Linked DNA regions of Homo sapiens: region 2 is linked to region 1. The links are contacts of gene promoters, found by promoter capture Hi-C in human tissues and cell types (Jung and others, 2019). All regions are on one chromosome and are shown on one strand. Each heading gives the region's core, a stretch centred on a gene start or on the middle of the fragment in contact. The rest is flanking DNA. Distances are from core to core; before and after follow the strand shown. Region 1 holds the start of NXPH1 (neurexophilin 1). Region 2 has its middle 650 kb from the start of NXPH1.

Evidence for each region. The method cuts DNA at HindIII sites, captures the fragments that hold promoters and counts their contacts. A contact is called where the count stands out against the background at its distance.
Region 2: a contact is called between a fragment that was not itself captured here and the fragment with the promoter of NXPH1 in region 1, in 1 of the 25 tissues and cell types used here (H1 embryonic stem cells).

The regions. Positions count from the first base shown.
Region 1 is chr7:8,430,743-8,437,996 of GRCh38, reverse strand. It overlaps NXPH1 (neurexophilin 1), which reads right to left and starts at 4,388. Exons shown (of 3, transcript NM_152745.3): 1 at 3,242-4,388; 2 at 2,230-2,393. The coding sequence starts at 2,283. RefSeq lists enhancers at 2,181-2,728, 2,729-3,276, 3,277-3,824. The HindIII fragment of the contact is 8,604 bases long and covers 1-6,423 here.
Region 2 is chr7:9,080,550-9,087,803 of GRCh38, reverse strand. No RefSeq gene overlaps it. Among named protein-coding and RNA genes, the nearest start is that of NXPH1, 650 kb to the right of the region's middle. The HindIII fragment of the contact is 3,780 bases long and covers 1,400-5,179 here.

The DNA.
Region 1 (7,254 bases), core at 3,139-5,638:
TTTTGTGGTGCATGTGGTTTCTAGTCCCCGACACACAAAAGTACTTTAGATTGGAGAAAAAAGAACGGACTTCTAAATAGCCTTCTCTATTTTATTGTTCACATTTCGTATTGTTTTGAGTGAAATTGGAAAAATTGTCTCCTTTCTCTGTATTGCCAAAAGGCATTCAGGTAATGAAGTCTGTAACTAAACGGTAATTGAATCAGCATAATTTGCACACTGAATGGTTTTCAAATGCTCCCAGTTTACAATTAAAGGAGAATTAATGCGCTTGTTGTTGAGAACGCAGCGCATTAGAATAAATCCAGCACTGTTGTTGTAATGAGTGGAAAACGGTTTAACTGCCAACAAACACATTTAAAATTTAACACAAAGTATTGATTTCACTTCTGCTTTTGATAGATTATTTTCCAGACTATCGAAATACTTGCTCCAAGCAATAAACTGCACCATAGCCACAAGCCCTTGCCGTGTGTGTGAGCACAGCCCAAGGACGTAAGAACAGTCCTCAAGTTCAGGTCAGGCGTAAAGGTATGCAGAGGAAAAGGGCAAGCGGGTTACGATGGTCAAGGGAATCCTTAAAATTACCTCCCCCCCGCCCCCGTCGCTTTCACTTTGCATTCCCTCCCCCCATCTCTCAATAAAAAAATTCTATATTTCTTCTGGCCAAACTTTCTGCCCTCCATCCATGGTCTCTCAATGTCAGTGGGCTTACTGAACACAGGTGGGGGTGAAAATGATTGAAGATGGGAAATGGGAAGGACACTTTTTGCATTCCGCCTGCGTTCCAGCGGGTAAAGGCACAGACTTCGGTGACAGAGTCAGAAAGGCTGTTCTTTTGGATTGGCTGCCCTGGCTTTCACCTGTTTACCCCAAGGTGTCCTGTGGGCGAGGACGCTGATGCGCAGCGCCCTCTGGCGTCCGCGGCTGCTACGGTCAGGCGATAAAGGGGCAAAGACAGGCAACATTGAGGGTTCTTGGATTGAAGCTGAAATCGGTTAAATACACATTCACACACACATATATATACGTGTCACTCACATACACAGAATTCACACAACTCGCAGCTTTGCAGCCACATGCACCAGGGCAACGGCCGAGAAACGCTGTCAATTGTAGGGATGGCAATTCTTTCAGGCTTATGGGTTCTATCTAAGGCTCTTGGGATTGAGGAGCGCCAGTATCACCTCCAATCAGAGGTGTAGCCCATCAGAGAGTTCGGGCTGCTTTAGCGCACCTCACCCCTAGACAGAACATAGCGAGCCCTCGGTGCACTCCCGCAGCCCAGGATGGGCTATGGGGGTCGGGACACTGAACACAACTTCACCAGCAGGGCACAAGTGTCCCTTACCCCCATTCCCCCATTCCCACCCCAGAAGCCAGACCTGAAATATCTCATTCTCCTTGTCTCAACATGGCACAAACAGCTACCAATTCACCACAACAAAGCTCTTCAACCAGGAGCCGAGTTCCAGCAGTGTACAAAGTCCAGCCCCCCGGAAAACTCTGCTACTGAAGGACAAGGACCGCGGCTTTGTTTAGAATTCTCTCCCTGGCGACAAGGCCTACCATTCCCTAATAATGGACTAGTCACTGGAGATGGGATTTAGTTATTTGATGAAAAGGGGAGGTCGAGACGAGAGGAAGGTGGACATGTTTGCTGGAGTATCTCTGTCCTAACTCCGATTGCTTGCAGTACCCCTGATAGTTAAACTTATCCTGTCGGAACCCTTACAAGTCAAAGAAAGTTAACTGCGCTTCTTTATGTGTCTCATCTCCAAATCGGGGAAGTGGGTGGGTAGATTCACTTTTAAACTCACAGACCTGGGCAGATTTGTTCTTTCCACCACCCAACTACACCCCCACTTCCCTTCGTTTAAACTCTGTGCATGAGCTACTGAGAGTTCCTGCCTTCCACTTCTTCTCGTTGGCCCTCTATCACATAAAGCACCCCATCTCACTACCTCCTTGGGTTTAGGGTGTCTGGGGCGCCCTAGCCCCTTTCAAGAATCACGCGCAGGAGACTGGGGGATTGGAGCAGAAAATGGGGTGGGAACCCCGGAAAATCCGCAGGAATCCAGAGACCAGCTTGCCAAAGTTGCTCCAACACAGCTGCTAGGAAGCTGCTCTCACTGAACTGGCGGCGTAACCCTTCTCCCGCGTGTCCCCAGTTTCCTTGCCTCCCGGCCGGGGTAAAAATGCGAAAGCCCCGAACCTTCCAAGACTTACCAAGTAGACGGTGGGCTGCAGGAGGAAAAGCACGTACCAGCACGCAGCCTGCATTCTCCCGCGTCTCAAACTTCCTTGGCGGTGCCTTCTTTGAGTCTTTGTTCCTTCAGAAACATAGATCCACCTGACATCCACTTTACAGAGCAAGGAGCGCTCTCAGCAGCCTAGATGCAAATAAAATTAGACATCCCATGACTACGCGGGCAAGGTTAGGCTTGACAATCAAGCGGGGAAAGGGGGTCGTAGCGGGGAGTGGGGGACCAAAAAAAAAAGGGAGGGAGGGTACGAAAAATTGAAAAGCGAGTAAATCCAGCGCCTGAGACCAGCAAGCGCGCGGTCCGCAGCTGGGGAGGCGGGCGGGCGGACGAGAGGGAGGGTGAGGGGCTCCTTGCCCCCTGCGCTCCTCGGGTGCGAGTTCCCAGGCGGCGGAGCACACTGAGCCGCGTGCAGGCTGGTTCGGAGCCCAGGCTTCTCCGGCAGCGAGACCTGCCCTTGTGTTGGGTGGCCCGGCGGCTCGGACTAAAGGCGGCGGCTGGTTCTTCGCCAGCCCTGGCAGTGCTCACACACGTACACACCAGCAGAGAGAGATAGAGGGGAAAGATAAAGGGAGAGAGAGAGATTGAGCGAGGGGGGCGCGGTGAGAGGAAGAGGTAGGTAGAACTGACCGCGATTAGGTGCTAGGTACCTCAACACGTTCGGTGAAGTGGGGGTGGGGAAAGAGAATGCAATTTGCATACAGGAAAGCAGGGATCAGTTTACCCATTCGAACCCCTGGCGCACACAGAGATACCCACGAATGCTCACAGTCACATCTCTAGCACTACTTTTTTCGAGCCAAAGGGTACAGCCGGTCGCTAACTTCTAGAGAAGAAGCCTCCTCCGAGCTGTGAGGGTCACCTGCCAGGCTTGTTCTCTTTCCTAACCAGCGCCCCTCCCTGCCGTCCCTTCCTCGTGCCCACCACCCCGCTCCCAGGTGTACCCTCCGGGAACAGCGGAGGCAAAGGGTACGTACCGCACAGGACTTGGGGCGAATCCTGCGAGAAGGGACCGCTCTGGGCAGGCTCCATGGAGAAGCTACTCGGGCCTGGCGTCTCCAGCGCCCCGGACGTGCCCTCCCAGGCGCTCCGTCTCCATGCTCGAGCGCAGACGGGTCCGGCTGCCTCGTCCAGCTTTGGCGGAGTCGCCGTCCCAGTGCCCGGGTCGCGCTCAGGATTGGTTCGCGGGAGCCAAGGCTTGGCACAGTTGGATTCACGGTGCAGGAAACTTAAGAGGCAAGAGAGGGAGGGAGCAGTAGAGGAGGAAAGAGAGGAAGACAGAAAGGGAGGGAGAGCAAGAGGGAGGGAGAGAGGGGAATGCGCCGGGCTGCTGCACCGGACGGACTGGGACTGCCAGCGCTGGCACCCGGACGAACAGTCCAGGACTCTCGGCTTCCCACAGCTGCCTGAGGATGGTGGAAATGACTTAAGGGGAGGAGACTGAGCAAGTCCTCTGGACTTGAAGTGGAGAGATAAGACACTGGCCTTTCGGAAGAAAAGAGAACCACACGGCAGACGAGAGCAGTCCGAGTTTCTGAGGGAGGGGTGGGGTGGCGAGAATCTGGAGCCTGCGGCACACGGAGCAGCTGTACCTCTACCCGCGACGCTGGGAAGCCCAGGAGCCGGTCCCCAGTGGAGTCCCGGGCGCTGTCCCTGGTGCTGCCCGGCCACCCGGGGACGCTCTGGAGCGCTTTGGGTTTCCGGCGGCCGCGGTGGTCGTGGTTTCTCCGCAGAGCCGCGGCTTGGCACGCCTACCTTCCTGACACGGACAATTACTTTGGCACGTGGGTGAATGATTCCTCAAAGACTAATTAGTACCCTGTGTAAACAGATCCGGCTCTCAGGCTCTCGCGGGCTGGGCCCACAGGGACAAGTGGCTCCCGCGGTGTCTTCGGTGGCCGCAGCGCCCCCTTCCCGGGGGGCGTAGGGAAGATCGCAAAGCCCAGGGGAGTGGCGGGAAGAGCAGCCGGGAGTCGCGTAGGGCGGGGAAGGGCGCGGGAGGGTGCAGGGCGCCCCTGCCGGCCTCGAGCGCCGACGCCGGGCGCCTCCGACCTGTGGCTGCCGGGCCGGAGGCGGGGGAGCCGCAGACTGCCAGCCATTCAGCTCGAGACAGCCGAGAGGACTGGGCGACCTTGGCCTCTGGACTCCTCGCCGCCGGCTGGGCTGAGCGTGAAGGGGGAGGAGGAGGACGGGGGATGCTTCGAGCCGTCACCACCTCCCTCGCTACTGACACCTCCCACTCAACCAGCGTCTCCCAGACTCGGCCTCTGTGCTCCGACTCTGGCTGTCTCTGTCTTTCTCAGTCTCTCCCTTACTGTCCCTATTTCTCAGTATCTTTCTCACTCCCTCTCTCTCTCTGTCTCCTTCTTCTGTCATTCTTGTGGTCTGCGTCTCTGTCCCTCAGCATCTTTCTGCCTTTTTCTGCCTTTCTGTGTGTCTCACTCAGGATTTCTGACTCTAGGTCTCTGTATCTCTGTGCCTCTACCGTGTCCCTGCCATTCCCCCTCAAACCCTGTTTTGTTTTTTGTTTTTTTTCCTCCACCCTTCCAGTGCACCACCACCAGAGCAGTTTCACCAGTCTCGGGAGACAGCCAGGACCAGCTTCTTCTGGTGCTGGTGGGGTTGCCAGTGCTCCTTGAGCTTGCCCAAATTCAGGGCACAAATCGGAACCCGGAAGAGGGTATCTCTTCCCCAACCTTGCCCATTGCATCTCCAAGCCTGCCCTTCACCAGAGCCTCTCCTGGGGTGATGCACATATCCATATCAATCTGTAGGAATTGTATGGAAATTTATCTCAGGAACCTGAGTTAGTGACATCAAAATCGAATTGTGATATTTAATGAGTCTGGAATGTCCTTTCCTCAAGTGTGGCTGTGGACACTCTGGCAGGTCTGGGCCTAGATACAATGTACACTCTAGACAATAGGTCCCAGGCTGAATTCCCCTGGATGATGGAGACCACCCCTCAAACAAGGCAGTGACAATCAGCAGAGCCACCCAGTCCTGCAGCAGAGGCAAGAGGAGCCCCACTGAGACCTTCCCCTGGAATCAGATCTCCAAAGACCTCCAAATTAGATCCCCACTGTAGAACATACCTACCAGCACTTTGAGGTCTACACTCTCCCTTCCAGCTAAAAATAACTCTTTAAAGAGCAAGCTCTTCTAATCTTAAAAGTTGTACTCTGCTGCTGTGACCTCCTGGAATTCATTGGGGCATATGCAGAATAAAGCAGTGAAGCACACCTTCTAACTGTGTCTCTGAAAATCCACTTCAGAAAAAACGCACATGTACATATAGCATAATTACAATGTTTTCTTGACTATTTTCACTTACCAGCTATTTCATTTTCTTAAAAACTTTAAACTTTAAAGAAGAAAAATTAAAGTATTGGGGCACCCGTATCTGAGGCCAAATGGTCAAAGCAGGGGCAAAAAAAGCTTTGTCTAATTCCATCCTCTAGGATTCATAAGGCTATCCTAAAATTGATTCCTATTTGTACAGGAGCTCCCAGGCCTCCCAGACTGGAGTGTAGAGCTGGAGCAAATGTTGCCTGCCTCTATCTGGATTCCCAGCTACAATGCTGTCAGAGCTGAACTTCTGTCTGACCTTTGGGAAAATGAGAAAGAATCCGGCTAGCTTTGGAATATACCAAGTTCTTTTCTAAACCTTACTTTAAAAACATTCTGCTTCTAGTGCCATTTAGCCTTAAAAAAATACTGCTTGTGAAATAGAAAGATGATCAGAGACCTTAAAATGTCTGTCTGAATGGGACTGATTATTTAAGAAAAGCACCACAGGCACCTAGTAATGGGAACAGGTTTGACACTTTGTTCTATGACACAGGATGCCAAAGAGCTTTTTCTGTTAATGACCTGAGATCTTCTGCCCAGACATTCAACCTTCGCTGGATCCTATGAGATACTTGGCCTGTGATATAAAACAGTGGCGGATTGTCATTTTTCATATTTCACAGGGGTCTTCATCTCCTATAATACTCAACCAGAAAAGGATACCGAGCCACCAAGTAACACAGAAAAATGTATCGTTTCTGCTAAACCACTCCAGTTTTAATAATATAATATTGGGGGAGAAGTGGACAAGAATGGTTCATTCACCCTCCTTTTTTCCTATCATTTGCTTTATAAAGAACAATGGAGCAATAAAAGCATGATTTTCTTACATTCTTCTGTTTCAAGTAGTATCCTACTCTAAAATGCACTCTTAGAATACATGAACAGTCAGCTTCATTGAGTGAGAACAAAAGTGTGATTACCTTAAGAAGTATAGTGTTTGTACCAATTTTTACTGACTTTACTCATGCTGAAAATTCTTTCAGAAATACTGTTTCCAAACTTTGTGTGCAATGCAACTTAATACAGATATAAACTTAGTATGAATGATAACCACTGTAAAACACAACCCTCTGCATCTGCTTTTCCCCATGTCTACCTGGTCCAACCTGAAATGAACAGTACGAGAAATAATATAGATCTTTGTCTCTAAGAAATATATTTTTAAAGGGTTAAAATGGGCTGCATCAAAAGAAAATAGTGAAATTAACTTTCCTGAAAGTTAAAACCAGAAGAAATTAAACTAGAATCTTCTGACATATACTGATAGTTCTGTTAAATGTAATTATCTATTTTGGTTTGGTTCATTTGTATGATTCTCTTTTTTGGCAGGGGAGAGGGAAGGGAGAGGTTTGAATTATCTTGGGGCTGGAGAGAAGAGAGACATAAAGAGAGAGGCTGAGTTCTACAAAATTTTGTCCTAAAATGAACCTGTCTTAAACACCTTAATATCATCATATTCTACCCAAAATCCAAGTAAAAACAGAGAACTATTGTTACAAAGCATCCAGCTGTGGTCTTGCTTAAGCTTCAGGCCAAATTACATCACTTTGTACATAGTACTGCATTGTACCTATTTTTTTTCCTAATAGTGATAGAAAACTTACAAAGACTGTATCACCCTCCTGCCCTTAATTCA
Region 2 (7,254 bases), core at 2,040-4,539, 650 kb before region 1:
GTGTAATAGGCACATTAGGGTAAATGCAGTATCTGTCACCTCAAGCATTTATTATTGCTTTGTGTTACAAACATTCCAATTATACTTTTAGTTATTTTTAAATGTACAATAAATGATTGATGACTGTAATCACTCAGTGGTGCTATCAAATGCTAGATCTTATTCACTCTAATGATATTTTTGTACCTGTTAACCATTCCCACTTCTCCCCCACCTCCCCAATACCCTTCGCAGCCTTTGACAACAATAATTCTTCTAACACATATAGCCCTTTTCAAATTATTTATCCTCGTATTATTTTTGGTAGTTTGTGTTTTCAAGAAATTGGTACATTTAGTCTATATTAACAAATTTGAGAGTAGGGAGTTGTTCCTTTATTTCTTTAAAATTCTCTTAATACTTATTAGAACAGTGGTGATGGCTGCTATTTTATCTCTGATATTACAAATGTGTGTTTTCCCTATTTTTTCTTTTTGGTTAGGCTTTGTTATGGGCTGAATTGTGCCCCCAAAATTCATATGTTAAAGTTCTAATTCCTAGTACCTCAGCATGTGACTACAATTGGAAAGACAGCTCTGAAGAGGTGACTATGTTGAAATGAGGCCATCAGGACAGACCCTGATTTAATCTAATGCAAGTCCCTATAAGAAGGGAAAATTTGGACACATAAAGAGACAACAGGGTTCTGCACACAACAAGGAACATTTGTGTGAGCACACAGCAAGAAGGCAGCTATGTGCAAGTCGAGGAGAAAGGCCTCAGGAGGAACTAAAATTGCCTACTCTTTGATCCTGGACCTCTAGCCTCCACAACTATGAGAAAATAAATATCTATTGTTTAAGCTATCAGGCTTTGCTGTTTTGTTATACCATCCCCAGCAAACTAATACAGCCTGGCTACAGGTTTAGCAATTTTACTTCTTTATTTCCTTGATTTTTCTCTATTAATTTTCTGTTTTCAATTTCATTGATACGTGCCACAATTTTTAATTTTTTTCTGCTTAGTTTGAATTTAATTGACTCTTATTTCTAGTTTCCTAAAGTAGAAGCTTGGGTTATTGATTTTAGATCATTGTTTCCTAATATATGTATTCAATTCTATAAATTTCCCTGTAAGCACTGTTTTTCTGTATTCCATAAATTTTAAGTTGTGTTTTACTTTTATTTCAAAATATTTTTAATTTCTCTTTAGAATTCTTCTTTGACCCACATGATCTTTAAATGTGTGTTGTTTAATCTCCCGATATTTGGGATTTTTCAGATATTTTCAGTTATTAATTTTTAATTTGATTCCACTGTGATCTGAGAACATATTTTGTATAATTTTTATACTTTAAGTGTGTTAAGAGGTGTTTTATGGCCCAGAATATGATCTGTCTTGGAGAATGTTGCATATAGGTTTGAGAAAAATGTGTATTCTGCTGTTTGGGAATGAGGTATTATATAAATGTCAAACAGATCTAATTGATTAATGGTGTCATTCACTTCACTATATCCTTACTGATTATTTGCCTGTTAAATTTGTCAATTATTGATAAAGAGGTGTGAAACTCCAGATTTATCTATTTCTTCTTGCAGTTCTATATGTTGTCTCATGAATTTTGAACCTGTTTTTACATTCACACCTATTAAGGGTTGTCAGGTATTCTTGGAGAATCATCCCTTTGATCTTTATGTAATATCCCCTCTATCCCTAATAACTTTCCTTAATTTGAAATCTGCTCTGTCTGAAATTAATATGGTTATTCAAGCTTTCTTTAAAGATATGTCATGCTAACATAATCAATTTTAAAAATAGACTTTTTTTTAGAGAACTTTTAGGTTCACAGCAAAATTAAGCAGAAGTACAGAGATTTCCCATATAACACTGTCCTGACACACATAACCTTCCTTATTATTAATATCCCCTACGAGAGTGGCACACTTATTACATTTGATGAACCCGCATTGACACGAAATTATCACCTGAGTCTAGTTTACATTAGAATTCACTTTTGGTGTTCTACATTCTGTAAGTATAGACAAATATATAATTACACATACACCACTGTAATATAGAGAATAGTTTTACTGTGAAAATCTTCTGTACTTCACCTATTTATTCCTCCCTCCGCACTAAGTTCTAGCAACACCAATCATTGTAATGTCTCAATTTTATCTTTTCCAGAGTGTCATGTAGTTGGACTTACATAGTATGTATCTTTTTATGATTGGATTATTTCACATGATAATACATATTTAAGGTTTCTCCATGTTTTTTTCATGGCTTGGTATCTCTTTTTAGTGCTGAATAAAATTCCATTGTGTGGATGTACCTGAGTTATTTTAACTTAAAATATTCATCTATGGAAACGCATCTTATCTTGGTTACTTCTATGTTTTGACAATTATGAATAAAGATGTTATAATTATCTGTGCAGACTTTTGTGTGTATATACGTTATTTCCCACAAATTCATATATTTACTTCATTGTTAGTCAGTGGAGTACATACACACATATAGATGTCTCTGAGTCACCTTAAGTCACATAATTGCAAGGATACAAACACATGCTAGATCATCCCTGTGGCTGAGTGCCTCTGGGGAATACTCAAGTCCTACTGAGGCTTCTCTCTGTATCTTCTGGCTGCTCTGTCCAGTTCTCCCTGAGCCCACATTCCTACTCTCTTTCCCTTCCATTCTTCCACCATGGTGGCAAGGCAAGGAAGATCCAGTTGAGACAGATCGCAGGTGCACAGAAGACTGAAAAGGCCAGTGTCCACTACAGCTGCTCTGGCGTCCTTCCTTGGTTCACACATTATGTATCGCACCACTTCAAGGACACTGTTAACTCCTGGAAGGAAAGGCCCAGGGCTTCTACCTCCTTGGGCATGGAGATACAGTGGTCAGGAAGAGCAGCTCCTTGTCAGACTGCTTAGTGTGTGACAACTGTGAGGACTCAGGGGCTATAAGCAGGAACAGGACAAGCTTACAAACAAATAACTAAGACCCAATACAGTGCATGCTGGAGCAGAGATGTGCAGAACACTGTGGGAGCACAGGAAGGGGCAGGGCAGGACAGCATCCTCAGAGAGGACACTTACAGGCACTACCCTGTGCCATATTCTGTGTGAGGTGCTTCAACTCCACCTTATTTTATTCTCACAAAGGAGGAAGGTGAGTTCAAAGACAATACCCTTGAAAAGCCACTGAGCTGGGATTCAGCTCCAGATCTTTCTGGTTCTAAAATCTATCTATGCTTTTTCCCTTGTACAGGCTACCACCCGAGGGGACACCAGCTCTGGGACTCAAAAAATGGTAAAGAGACCTCCAGAATCAATGAATCACTTTCAGAGAAAAGAAAAGAAAAACTTTAAAAACACAAAGAAAAAAAATACCACATTTTCCCCAAATTTCACGTCATAACCAACTAGAAGTGCAAACGTAAGTGATGCTGGAAACAAGACTCTGGCAAGAAGGGCCTTCTGAGCAAGGTCAGCATCTCCTCCCAACAGCTCTTTCTCCCAACAATGCCAGGGGATCTTTCAAAATTGCCACTGCTGCTGCTAAGCTCCAGAAGAGAGGTTTCTGAACTTCAATGTCTTTATCATAGCTCACTCTCTGGGTTCTCAGATAGATATATATATATCAGGGTTGTCTTCATCTGAATGAAGCTGGAAACTCTGCCTGACAGCATGCTTATAATGCTCCTGGATGCCCTTGGTCGGCAGCTGCAGCGGCAAATGTCTGTAGAGCTGTAGCAGCCTCCAGACCAGCTCTGTCCCTGGTGGTAGCAGGATCATCTGCAAGATCGTCTGCGCCTGCTTCGTGAAACCACCTGCTATGTCTATATTTGAGTCATCCATAAAAATGCTTAATCAGATTAGAGCTAAGTACCCCACAGGGCATGGGCAGGAACAAGTTCAAACATCTATAAAAAGCACTTGATTGTACTGTTATCCAGTACTTCTCAATCTTCTCTACAAAACCTTGCTCTGTGCTTTTCTGAAACACAAGAACATCATATGCAGCTTCCCCCTGCCTCCACGGGGGACATCAGCCCTGGACACTGCCACACCAATTAGTGTATTTAAATTTTTAACTCATTTGGGTAAATAGTAATAAGCATGATTTCGGAATTACATATACGAGTATGTTTAGTTTGTGACAAACTGCCAAACTGTTTTCCAAAGTAGCTGTACCATTTTGCATTCCCAGCAGCAACGAATAAGAACTCCTGTTGCCCTACATCCTTGCGAGCATTCCATGTTGTCACGGTTCTGGGTTTTTGGCCATTCTAATAGGCACGTAGTGATATTTCATTGTTTGTTTTAATTTGGATTTCTCTGATGATATATGGTGTAGAGCAATTTTTCCTATGCTTATTTTACATCTCTCTATCTTTTTTGGTGAAGTGTCTGTTAAGGTGTTTGGCCCGTATTTTAATAGGGATGTTTTCGTATTGTTGAGATTTAGGTGATCTTTGTATATTTTGGGTAATTGTCCTTTACCAGGTATATCTTCTGTAAATATTTTCTTCCCGTCTATGCCTTATCTTTTCATTCTCTTGACAGTTTCTTTTACAGAGCATAATTTTTTAATTTTAACGAAGTCTAATTCATCATGGATCTTGCCTTTGGTGTTATTTCTAAAACTTCATCACAATACCAAAAATTTTCTCTGCTTATCATCTAGGAATTTTATTTTGCATTTTATATTTAGGTCTGTTATTAATTTTGACTTACTATTTTTGAAGGGTGTAAATGTCTTGTGTGCTGCCATCTATTATCTCATACATTCTGATCTGTTTTACATTAAATCTTCTGTATCTCTCTTTCTGAAATTTGAGTCAAAGTTCCAGGAGGTGTTATATTTATCTTTAATTCCTTCTTCACCATCAGACCCCTGCTTCCACCCTTGCCCAACCCCCACATCGTCTAATATTATTTTTCATAACTGAACTGTATTTTGGGTACAGGCTCTGACAAGTGCTTACTTATGCTACATTATTTAATTATAACAAGAATTCTATTTTTTTTAGATATTATTATCCCTGGGGCAAATAGAGTCCTAAAGTGGCCCCAATGATCCTCTCTCCCTAGTACTATTATCCTGAATAATTCATTTTCCTTTAATGTGGGTGGAAACTATGGCTTGCTTCTACGGATAGAATATGGCAAAAGTGAAAGGATTTTGCAGATGTAATTAAGGTCTCAGATCAATCAAATAGAAGATTATCCTGAGAAGACCTGACCTAAGTGAAATCTCTTAAAAAAAAAAAAAAAAAAAAAAGGACGGGGCTCTCCCTGAAGTTAAAGACTCTGCTTTTACTCTTTATGAATTCAAAAGGAATGTCAGGAAGCCTTCAGGCAGCAGCCAGAAGAAAGCTGGGGCCCTTTTCCATACAGCTGAAAGATAAAGAATCTGTTAGATACCTGAAGAGCTTAGAAGTGAGTGGCTCTCCAGATAAGAATGCAGGCAAGCTAACATTTTTTACAGCCTGTTACACTCTGAGCATAGACGAACCACCCATGCCATGCCTAGGCTCTTGACCCATGGAAATTGTTAGATAATAAATATATGTTGAAGTTGTAATAATATTGGTACAGTCATTCTAATTTATTTGTGTGTGAAAAATATGTGTCTGTGTTAAAATATGTAAGTAATGTCATGGCTACAATCCCAGCACTTCAGGAGGCCAAGGCGGGAAGATGACTTGAGATCAGGAGTTTGAGACCAACCTGGCCAACGTGGTAAAACGCTGTCTCTACTAAAAATACAAAAATTAGCTGGGCATGGTGGTGGGCACCTGTAATCCCAGCTAATTGGGAGGCTGAGGCAGGAGAATTTCTTGAACCTGGGAGGCAGAGGTTGCTGTGAGCTGAGATTGCCCCACTGCACTCCAGCCTAAGTGACAGAGGGAGGCTTTGTCTCAAAATAAATAATAAAATATGTAAGTAATAATTTTAGAGTCATTGGGAAATATTTCAACTCAAGAGAAAAAATATAAATATCAAATCAAAAACATAATGAAAAATTCCTAAATGTGAATTTAATTATTTTGTCTTAAAATAACAATAATACCTATTTCTTAGTTTTTTTCTGTTGAAAAATCCTAAACACAATGACCAACCTAGTAACAATGAGCATTGGTGTAATAACACTGGCGTCTCAATACCATATTCCATTAAAAGTAACCAGAGTTCCTTGGATAGATGGTTGATTCCAGGCATGAAATATGTAAGGTAAGCCTGCTCATTTTTTCATAGCAGAAACCAAAGCAGCTTCCAAAAATACTAGGATTCAGTCAAAAAGACTCAGGAGCCAACTTGAAGAAATCCCTTATGACCAAAACAGAAAAAAATTAAATATTCATTGAAAGAATCACTGCAGTGAGTTGAAACATGTTAAATATATTGCCATTTTAATGATCATATAGACAAAACCAAACAAGAACCTACTAATGGTCACATTTCAGAGATGTTTCAAACCCAGTGAAGTATTCTGAAAACACATCAAAGAGGAAATAATCATTCTATTATTATTTCCTATACGAATGTGTGTCAGAGTAACAACATGATTGATGAAGTCAAGTTTCTCTCTACACACATAGTCTATCTTAAAAATAAGATAGTGTCACCATTTCATTAATTTATGATGAAAAATGGAAAATTACATTACGACAAGGAGAGGTAATTAGAAATTTTGGTACTCTTTATTAACCAGCACCCAACTATATCCGAAGTACTGTTGTTTAAAAAAGAAATCAAACCTGAATCAGATAGAGCTTCTAGATCTAAATACAAGAAATACAAATGGCCAAGTTGTTTTCAACAAATACATTGCAAGAGGACAGGAAAAACTGCAGGAACTAATACATTAAGATAATCTTTTAAGACATGTTTATTAAATTGTATGTTTGAACTTTGAGTACCAACTTGAAATAATCAAATATTTTTAAAAAGTTAAGCAAACAAAAAATACTTATGAGAGAACTGCGGACTAGATACTTGATGATATGAAGAATTTAGTCAAGTTTTTGTAAGCTGTAATTATATAATGATTGTTTCAAAAAAAAGTTCTTATGTAGAGATAAATTCTGAAATTTTTACAGCTGACATTAAGTTAAGCCTGGCATTTTCAAAGTAATCCCACAGAGTAAGGAGGAGGGTAGAATATGAGGGTGCATAGATGAAACATAAGTTGATGTTAGATATACATGGGCTTTCCCTTGCTTTTGACTTTCATATATATTTGAAATTTATCATAATCAAA